Linked DNA regions of Homo sapiens: regions 1 and 3 are each linked to region 2. The links are contacts of gene promoters, found by promoter capture Hi-C in blood cells and fetal thymus (Javierre and others, 2016). All regions are on one chromosome and are shown on one strand. The core of a region is centred on a gene start or on the middle of the fragment in contact, and the rest is flanking DNA. Distances in the headings are between cores, read along the strand shown.

Region 1 (3,254 bases), core at 272-2,771, 310 kb after region 2:
AATGCCTGGGGCACCATTGCAGAACCAAAGCCACAGACAGGAAGGGCTGGGCCACAATCAACAGGGCCTTAGGGATTTTGAAGTAAAGGTTAACACGCTCACATCCAAGGTCTGGGCTTGCTGTGCTTAAATCAGAAGCCAGCCATCAGCCACCCAAGTGCAGTTGTGAAATCGCCCTGCCTTGTACCCGGAATATGGTGTGGTCTCCCTCAAAGGTCATTTTGATTTCAACACACCCTGGGATCTCTAGTTCCTGCTTCTACAAAGTGCTCCTGTGGGCACTTGCAATAGACCAGGTCTATGCCAGGTGCTCATTCAACCCTTGCAACAACCAAGTGAGGGAGTTTATGATTCCCAGTTTACAGATTAGGAAGTAGAGGTCTTGAGAGGCCAAGAAATTTGCCCATGGTGACATGGCTAAGAAGTGGGAAGTCAAGTGTTAATGTGGGTCTCTGATTCCTAAGTCAAAGCCTGGCCTTGGTTGAATCCTATGCCTTGGGTAAGCAACTGCTACATTCTCCATATGTGGCAGGGTCATTTCATGGCCAAATCAAGTTAAGTCCCCCATCCACACCTACTATTGCCCAAGTGATGAAAAGAGCTTGAGATCAACCAGCTTTTATATGGTGGTTTGCAGCTTGCAGCTTTTATATGGTGGTTGCAGTTGCTCATTTCATCCTTAAAATCCTAATAGGTTGCTCTTATCATCATTGTCATCACCATCTCCACTTTATAGATAAGGAAGCTTGAGCTTGAGGAAGACAGGCTCACCCAAAAGACAGCTGGAAAGCTGGAGCTCCCCTCCCATCCCCTGATCCTAGCACCTGGACAGTTTCCACTGTAGCCCAGCTGCCTCCTGGCCTCCAGGAAGGGGGGAGGCGAGCTATAGCTGCCAATTGCCTTTCTTTCTGTAAGAAGGCAGGGTCCTTTCCAAGATCCCAAGACTCTCACAAGTCCAGATTCACCCCTTTCATTTAAGTACAGGGTGTTCTCTTCCATGCTATCTGTCTGCGTCGGCCACACACACAATTTATAAACAAGGTAAAAATGGCAGAGGAAAAATGAAGTCAGAATGTGCCATTGAAGCAAGTCAAACAATACCAAATTAGTCTTTGGCTACGTGGCTATCTCATTGTTAAGATATTTCCTCCAATGTTTTCAGAGGCAACGGCCATTAAACAACTGGGAATGATCGCCAGGTTTGATTTCAGGAAGGAAATCTCCTCCCATTTCCCCACTGGGCAATTCAATTAATTTTCTCCTGACCCACACCAGCTGATTATTAGGGAAGCTATACCTGCTTCTTTTATAAACAAAACCCATTTGCTTAAAGGTTCAAAATTCCTTTCCCAACGGCTGGAAACCCTGTGCTCCCATCAAATGACTCTATTCTTTTTTCTGGGGGGACAGGACCAGTCATGGGTGAGCTCTCAGAACCATCCTGGGAGCAGACTTTGAGGCCCAAGGGCCAGCTTCTGGGTAAAGTTCTGTCTGGCCTGGAGCTCCAAGCCTTTGTCCAGAGACACCCTTTGGATCCAAGACAAAGTAAATAAGTTGGTCCTACAGGGTGTTTTGGGTGGACCCAGCCATGTTTATCGCTTCAGGAGAACACATCTGTGTCCCGCACTGCCCAGGGAGCAAAGACCTCATTTTCCACTCTCTCAAAGCCATTATTGCTGGGACAGCAACTTCACATCTTGGAGGGAGTCTCTGTCGTGACAGAGGACTGGCCGCAGAGTATAGAGGCCTGGGCTCTGTTCCTCACTCTATTAGCCATCCAGGTGACCCCAGACACGCTATTCTACCAGTGCAGGCCTCAGTTTCCTCATCTGTAAATTGGGCTCCTTGTCCCAGTGACACGATAGTCTCTGATTTCAGGAGTCTGAGTGGGTTTTGGCTAGGAAAAAAAACAACCATTCATTTCATTCCTCTTTTCCTTAAATTCATAGCTTTCTTCCATAAAAAGAATGTCAGTGGCTTCCTGTCTGTCAAAGGCATAATGAGCTCTGTTTTACAAGAGTCCAGACATGGGCAAAACAAAGGAAGCCAGGGGCCCACTGGAAGAGCTACCAGAAATCTTGCTGAAAGTTCTTCCCAGACCTAAAAGAAGTTTATGCGGCAAATGCCTCATTTCTTCAGATATTAGCTGCCCAGTTAACTCCTGCATTGCTGGGTAGCTCACAAAAAGGTTGGGATTGGAAGACACGTCTTTGCAAAAGTTGAACGTGGGCCTCTGTGTCTTTCATAAACCCTCCCATCTGCCAAATAGCAGATTCCTAACTCCATTTCCTACAGAATGAAGCTTCTTAACAAGGCATGTAAATCCTTTGGATTTAAGCCCTGACTTATCTTTCTCCCGTCACTTGTCACTGTCACACTCTTCTTTTCCCATCCCACACTGCTTGAAACTGGTCATCCCTCACCCTTGTGCTCCTGCTGATCTTTCTCCCTCAATGCTGCCATCACTCCATTCATTCTTCATGGCCCATTCCAAATGATTCCTTGGGGAAGAGGCCACTAGCTAGGTCTCTGTTCTGTGTTCCCATAGGCTCTGGCATAGCTCACTTTGCTTTATGATAAGTGATCACATGTCTGATTCCCTCATCAGAAGGTGAACTGAGGTCAAGAAGCTTGGGTGTCTCCTGCAGCTGATGGCCTGGTGTGTAGGGGGTAATTAGAATCGGCTAAATTGCAATGAGCTGTCAGCTGCTCCACTCCTCCAAGCATACACCCTAGATCTGCCTCACTTCCAGAGCCTAGACTTTGGCGTTAAACGAAATGTGTGCTTTGCTTGTTTGGCGCTAAGCACCCCAGAGTCCCAATCCCTTCACGTGTGGGCTGAGATGTAATGATGGAAATTGCAGGAGAGAATATTCGAAATCAGAACTGGCCAAGGCTAGTCAGAGAAGCCCAGGGCTTCTGGTCTGAAACAGACTAGGGAGCGGGGAAGAATTCATGTGAATGCAGGACGTGGGTGAGTCTGGAAATATTTCACTGTTCAGTGGAGTACTTTTAAATATAATGTATATGAAATGTGTACTTACAGAGTATCTGCTTTCCACGGCATCTACAAAACAAAGGATGACATGGCAGTGAGCAACGCAAATAACCCAGTTCAACTGCCCCAACAACATCACAGGGTCAGGAGCAGGTCGAGAAAAGAGGGAGGAGGCGAGAGCCAGGAGACATCAGCCGGCAGGTGCCCTTAGAGGTTTATGGCTCCTTTGTGCAAGACAGCTTCCCCGGGACCCTCT
Region 2 (3,322 bases), core at 594-3,093:
TGGCTTACTGCAACCTCCACCTCCCGGGTTCGAGCTATTCTCCTGCCTCAGTCTCCCGAATAGCTGAAACTACAGGCGTACGCCACCACACCCAGCTAATTTTTGTATTTTTAGTAGAGATGGGGTTTCATCTTGTTGGCCAGGACCGTCTCTATCTCTTGACCTCATGATCCTCCTGCCTTGGCCTCCCAAAGTGCTGGGATTACAGGCATGAGCCACTGCTCCCGGCCTTACTTCTCACTATCTGTGTGACCTTGAGCAAATCACTTAATCTTTCTGTGCCTCAATTTCCTCATCTGCAAAAAGGAATCAATAATAGTATCTTCCTCATAGGGTTTTTGTGCAGATTAAACAAATAAAATAAGTAAATATTTTAAAGCATTTAGAACAGTGCCTAGCACACAGTAACGCTATATAACTGTTTCATAAAATAAAAATAAATAGGCATAGCCAGGTGCAGCAGTTCAAGACTGTAGTCCCAACTAATCAGGAGGCTGAGGTGGGAAGATCACTGGATCCCAGGAGTTCGAGGTTGTAGTGTGCTATGATCATGCCTGTGAATAGCCACTGCACTCCAGCCTGGGAAATATAGTGTGACCCCATCTCAGTAAATAAATAAATAAATAAATAAATAGAGATGCATATGTAATAAAGCACTTAAAAATAAGAGAACAATAAACACAAAATTCCAGAGGGTGGCTACCTGTGGGTGGGAGGCAAGTAGCATAAAAGTGGACAAGTGGTGGCCAGGTGTGGTGGCTCACGCCTGTAATCCCAGCATTTTGGGAGGCCGAGGTGGGCGGATCATGAGGTCAAGAGATCGAGACTCTCCTGGCCAACATAGTGAAACCCTGTCGCTACCAAAAACACAAAAATTAGCTGGGCATGGTGGCATGCGCACCTGTAGTCCCAGCTACTTGGGAGGCTGAGACAAGAGAATCGCTTGAACCCAGCAGGCGAAGGTTGTGGTGAGCCAAGATTGTGCCACTGCACTCCAGCCTGGGCGACAAGAATGAAAACTCTGTCTCAAAAAAAAAAAAAAAAAAAAAAAGCAGATAAGTGGTGTTTGCAGTTTGGTGATACTCCATCCTTGTGCTGAGTGGCAGCTTCAGGTGTGTTTGGTATATTACTGTGCAGTATGATGTATATGTATGTTACATAAGCTTTTTATGCGTTACCTAGTAAATTTTACAAAAATAATAAAAGGGAAAAAGGGCCTTTCTACGTGCCTAGAAAGAAGAGGCTTCATGGGAATGTGAGCCATGGGTTAGGAAAGACCCCCTCGAACCGAGGCAGGTAGGAAGTGAGTGACTGAGATTCATTATGAACCCACCACGCCTGCCGGGGAGAACAGGGACTGTCCCTTCCCCTCTGCATCAGCTCAGATGGTCCAGATCACAGCCCACGTGGGCCCCTAAATAAGGAGGCAGCCCCACATTTCTACATCGGCCACCGAGATGGCAGAGCAGAGGAAGGAGAGAGGGGAGACAAATCAGGAAAGGAGCGCCAGGGCAAGTGCGTGAGCTCAGAGACCCAGCAGGGCAGGGCAGGAGCTTCACAGAGTGCAGAATGTCGAGCCACAGGAGCGCTGGGGATTCCCCAACCCCTGCACTTACCAGCGAGAAACTGAGACCCAGAGAGGGGAACGGACTAAAACTCAGACCTCGACACTGCCAAAATCCTTCCCATGCTGCCACGCTTCATTGGAGGGAAAGTGAGAAGCTCAACCTTACCCCTGTGGGCTCCAAGAAGGGTAGCTCTGGGATCCCGGGCAGGAAATTGGTGACAAGGTGACAAGGTGCGCGTGTCACAGCTGCCCAGTTCACGGCTTATTCAGTCTTCTCCCTCCCCCCACTCCCCACCAGAAGTGACGTGCTTCCTGTGCCCCGGTTCCCACCCTAAACTAGCCTCATTTAGCTCCACTCCCATTCCGCTTTTTTTTTTTTTAATTGTGGTAAAACGTACACAACAGAATTTACCATTTCAATTTTTTTTTTTTTTTTAGACTGAGTCTCAGTCACCCAGGCTGGAGTGCAGTGGTGTGATCTCGGCTCACTGCAACCTCTGCCTCCCGAGTTCACGTGATTCTTGTGCCTCAGCCCGCAGAGTAACCGGGACCACAGGCACCTGCCACCACGCCTGGCTAATTTTTGTATTTTTAGTAGAGACAGGGTTTCACCATGTTGGCCAGGCTGGTCTCGAACTCCTGACCTCAAGTGAACTGCCTTCCTCGGCCTCCTAAAGTGCTAGGATTACAGGCAAGAGCCACTGCGTCCAGCCAATTTTTTGTTGTGTTGTTTTTAAGACAGAGTCTTGCTTTTGTCACCTAGGCTGGAGTGCAGTGGCACAATCACAGTTCGTGGCAACCTCTGACCCCTGAGCTCAAGTGACCCTCCCTCCTCAACTTCCCAAGTGACTGGGACTACAAGTGTGCAGCCACCAGGCTTGGCTAATTTCTGTAGTTTTTGTAGAGACAGAGTGTTGCTTATGTTGCCCAGCCTGGTCTCAAACTCTTGAGCTCAAGCAATCCTCCCACCTCAGCCTCCCAAATGCTGGGAATGAGCCACCGTGCTAGGCCCATTTTAATTATGTTTAAGTGTACAGTTTGGGGCACTAAGTACATTCACATTGTTCTGCAACCATCACCACCATCCATCTCTGGAGCTCTCTCTTTCTCTTTTCTTTCTTTTTTTTTTTTTGAGATGGAGTTTCGCTCTGTTGCCCAGGCTGGAGTGCAGTGGTGTGATCTTGGCTCACTGTAACCTCTGCCTCCCAGGTTCAAACGATTCTCTTGCCTCAGTGTTTTTGTTGTTGTTGTTGTTGTTTGTTTGTTTGTTTGTTTTGTAGAGATGGAGCCTCACTCTGTCGCCCAGGCTGGAGTGCTGGAGTGCAGTGGTGTGATCTCGGCTCACTGCAACCTCCGCCTCCCGAGTTCAAGCAATTCTCCTGCCTCAGCCTCCTGAGTAGCTGGGACTACAGGTGCACGCCACCACGCCTGGTTAATTTCTTTTGTATTTTAGCAGAGATGGGGTTTCACCATGTTGCCTAGGCTGGTCTCAAACTCTTGAGCTCAGGCAATCCGCCCGCCTTGGCCTCCCAAAGTGTTGGGATTACAGGCATGAGCCACCGTGCCTGGCCTTGCCTCAGCCTCTTGAGTAGCTGGGATTACAGGCACGTGCCGACTGGCTAATTTTTGTATTTTTAGTAGAGATGGGGTTTCATCATGTCGGCCAGGCTGGTCTCGAACTCCTGACCTCAAATGATCCGCCCACCTCAGCCTCCCAAAGTGCTGGTATTACAGGCATGAACCACCACGCTTGGC
Region 3 (3,372 bases), core at 827-3,326, 290 kb after region 2:
GTATATCCTTCACCTAGATTCATTTGTTGCTAGCATTTTGCCCATTTGCTTTATCTCTCCTCCTCTGTGTTTGTACACACACACATACACACACACACGCAAACATTTTTTAAAAATTATTTTAATTTTTGGCTGGGTGTGGTGGCTCATGGCTATAATTCCAACACTTTGGGAGCCCAAGGTAGGCAGATCACTTGAGGCCAGGAGTTCGAGACCAGCCTGGGCAGCCTGGGCGAAACCCTGTCTCTATAAAAAATACAAAAAGTAGCCAGGCATGGTGGTATGTGCCTGTGGACCCGCTACTCAGGAGGCTGAGGTGGGAGTATCACTTGAGCCAGGGAGGTTGAAATTGCAGTGAGCCAAGATCTCACCACTGTGCTCCAGCCTGGGCAACAGAGTGAGATCCTGTCTCAAAAAAATTATTCTGGCCAGCCACGATGGCTCACGCCTATAATCCCAGCACTTTGGGAGGCCGAGGCAGGTGGATCACTTGAGGTCAGGAGTTCAAGACCAGCCTGACCAACACGGTGAAACCCCGTCTCTACTAAAAATACAAATTTAGCCAGGCATGGTGGTGCGCGCCTGTAATCCCAGCTACTCGGGAGGCTGAGGCAGGAGAATTGCTTGAACCCAGGAGGCGGACGTTGCAGTGAGCCGAGAACACACCACTGCACTCCAGCCTGGGCAACAGAGTGAGACTTCCTCTCAAAAAAAAAAATTATTTCAATGTTTGCTAAATATTTTGAAAGTTAGTTGCAGGCATCATATTTCTAATATTACTTCACCATGTATCCCCTAAGAATGAGGACATTCTATATAATTACAGTATATTACCATGCTTGAGAAATTTAACATTAGGCTAAGCACAGTGGCTCATGCCTGTAATCCCAGCACTATGGGAGGCTGAGGCAGGTGGATCACTTGAACCCAGGAGTTTGAGACCAGCCTGGGCAATATGGCGAAATTTTGTCTGTACAAAACTTACAAAAAATTAGCCAGACATGGTGACGCACACCTGTGGTCCCAGCTACTCGGAGGCTGAGGTGGAAAGATTGCTTGAGCCCAGGAGGTTGAGGCTGCGGTGAGCCACCATCATGCCACTGCACTCCAGCCTGGATGACAGAGCAAGACACTGTTTCAAAAAAAAAGAAAGAAAGAAATTTAACATTAATACTATATTGTGATATATATTCCATATTCAATTTTCCCAATTGGCCCAATTATGTACTTGACTAGCTTTTTTTTTTTTTTTTTTTTTGAGATGGAGTCTCGCTCTGTTGCCCAGGCTAGAGTGCAGTGGCACGATCTTGGCTCACTGCAATCTCTGCCTCCTGGGTTCAAGCAATTCTCCTGCCTTAGTCTCCCGAGTAGCTGGGATTACAGGCGCCTGTCACCATGCCTGGCTAATTTTTGTATTTTTAATAGAGACAGGGTTTCACCATGTTGGTCAGACTGGTCTCAAACTCCTGACCTCAGGTGATCCACCCACCTTGGCCTCCCAAAGTGCTGGGATTACAGACATGAGCCACCGTGCCTGCCCTTGAATAGCTTTTTGAACAGATTGCATTTAGCGGTTCAGACCCTTTGGTCTCTTTTAATCTAGAGCAGTTTTTCAGACCATTTTGATCTTTTCTGACATGGATATTTTTGAAAAGTCCAAGCCAATTGTGTTAAAACTATAATTACTTTATGCTATTTGAATTCTACACGTGATCTTGGTCCTAGAGTGTAAATTTTATCTGTGCTGCCACCAGGTGGCGCACTTGGTAGGTCCTGGTCCTCAAAAACCCTTGTGAAAGGGCAACTTAAGGCAAGAAAACTCGTTTTGTCTCAATCAACTAAGGCTGTTATTTGGTAAAGCATATGATGTTGGCAGTGCCCATATATTTATAAAGGCACGTGGTGTCTTTTCCATAATCTGGGGATCTTGCTAATTAGGATTATAGTTTCGTAGACCTGTAATGGGTCCCAAGATTCTTTCTTTTTTTTTTTTTTTGAGACAGGGTCTCACTCTGCCAGCCAGGCTGGAGTGCTGTGGCGTGATCACGGCTGACTGCAGCCTCAAACTCCTGCGCTCAAGCGATCCTCCCACCTCAGCCTCCCAAAGTGCTGGTATTACAGGCATGAGCCGTTGTCCTGGCCAAGGTTCTGCATTTCTAACAATGGCCAAGTGATTGTGATGCTGCTGATTTGAAGAGCACGCTTTGAGTAGCAGGGGTTTAGAACAAGCCTATGAAGAACTATAATCTATTTACAATTAGTGGCTTCTGTTCTTGAGACAAAATCTCACTCTGTTGCCCAGGCTGGAGTGCAGTGGAGCCATCACGGCTCACTGCAGCCTTGACCCCTGAGGCTCAGGTGATCCCCCTGCTTCAGCCTCCTGAGTAGCTGGGATCACAAGCATGCACCACTCCACCTGGCTAATTTAAAACATTTTTTTGGAGACAGGATCTCTGTATGTTCCCCAGGCTGGTCTCGAACTCCTGGGCTCAAGGGATCCTCCCATCTTGCCCTCCCAAAGCGCCTTGACCTCCCAAAGTGCTGGGATTACAGGCATGAGCCATCATGCCTGGCCACTATTATATATATATATATATATATATATATATATATATATATATATATATATATATATATTTAAACAATTTTGGCCCCCACAGTGGCTCATGCCTCTAATCCCAGCGCTTTAGGAGGTCAAGGCGGACAGATCACTTGAGGTCAGGAGTTTGAGGCCAGCCTGGCCAACGTGCTGAAACCCCATCTGTACTAAAGATACCAAAATTAGCTGGGCATGGTGGTGCATGCCTGCAGTCCCAGCTACAAGGGAGGCTGAGGTAGGAGAATTGCTTGAACCCGGGAGGTGGGGGTTGCAGTGAGCCAAAATCACGCCACTGTGGTCCAGCCTGGGTGACAGAGCAAGATTCTATCCCACCCCCCCAAAAAACAAACAAACAAACAAACAAAAAACAATTTTATAACTTTATTTGGTATATTTGATGATTAGCAGTTAGTTCACATTCACACCGACTGTAGATTTTTTTAAAGTGGTAACAGGTACGTAGGCAACCGAAGTATAGAGCTTGTTTGGTAAATCTTTATCTTCATTACATTTTCTGGACAACCGAACATGGATACAGTATGAGACGTTGCTTATTCCTTTGGCCCAGACAGCTTTGTTGAGCCTGGTATCAAAGTGTGCATCTGGAGTTCCCATCTCCTTCAGGGCAAGTTTCCGGAGCTCTTTGAGTGCCTGAGGGGAACGCTTCTTGAAGCCCACTCCATGAATGCACTTATGAATGTTGATGGGGTATTCTCGGGTCACCATCTCGTTGATGGCGGAATGACCCTTCTTCTTCTCATCACCCTTCTTTG

Evidence for each region. Contacts are between HindIII fragments. The CHiCAGO score rates a contact against its expected background, and 5 or more counts as called.
Region 1: a fragment that was not itself captured here is called in contact with the fragment with the promoter of ICAM2 in region 2 in 2 of 17 cell types (monocytes and M0 macrophages); the score reaches 6.5 in monocytes.
Region 3: a fragment that was not itself captured here is called in contact with the fragment with the promoter of ICAM2 in region 2 in 3 of 17 cell types (endothelial precursors, M0 macrophages and M2 macrophages); the score reaches 7.8 in endothelial precursors.

The regions. Positions count from the first base shown.
Region 1 is chr17:64,326,656-64,329,909 of GRCh38, forward strand. PECAM1 (platelet and endothelial cell adhesion molecule 1) reads right to left here. Exons shown (of 16, transcript NM_000442.5): 15 at 3,045-3,067. Among named protein-coding and RNA genes, the nearest start is that of PECAM1, 63 kb to the right of the region's middle. The HindIII fragment of the contact is 1,557 bases long and covers 744-2,300 here.
Region 2 is chr17:64,018,790-64,022,111 of GRCh38, forward strand. ICAM2 (intercellular adhesion molecule 2) reads right to left here and starts at 1,844. Exons shown (of 5, transcript NM_001099789.2): 1 at 1,734-1,844. RefSeq lists enhancers at 1,464-1,583, 1,678-2,178, 1,924-2,013, 2,234-2,283. The HindIII fragment of the contact is 3,360 bases long and covers 1,162-3,322 here.
Region 3 is chr17:64,305,309-64,308,680 of GRCh38, forward strand. It overlaps the pseudogene RPL31P57. Among named protein-coding and RNA genes, the nearest start is that of TEX2, 44 kb to the left of the region's middle. The HindIII fragment of the contact is 4,234 bases long and covers 1-3,372 here.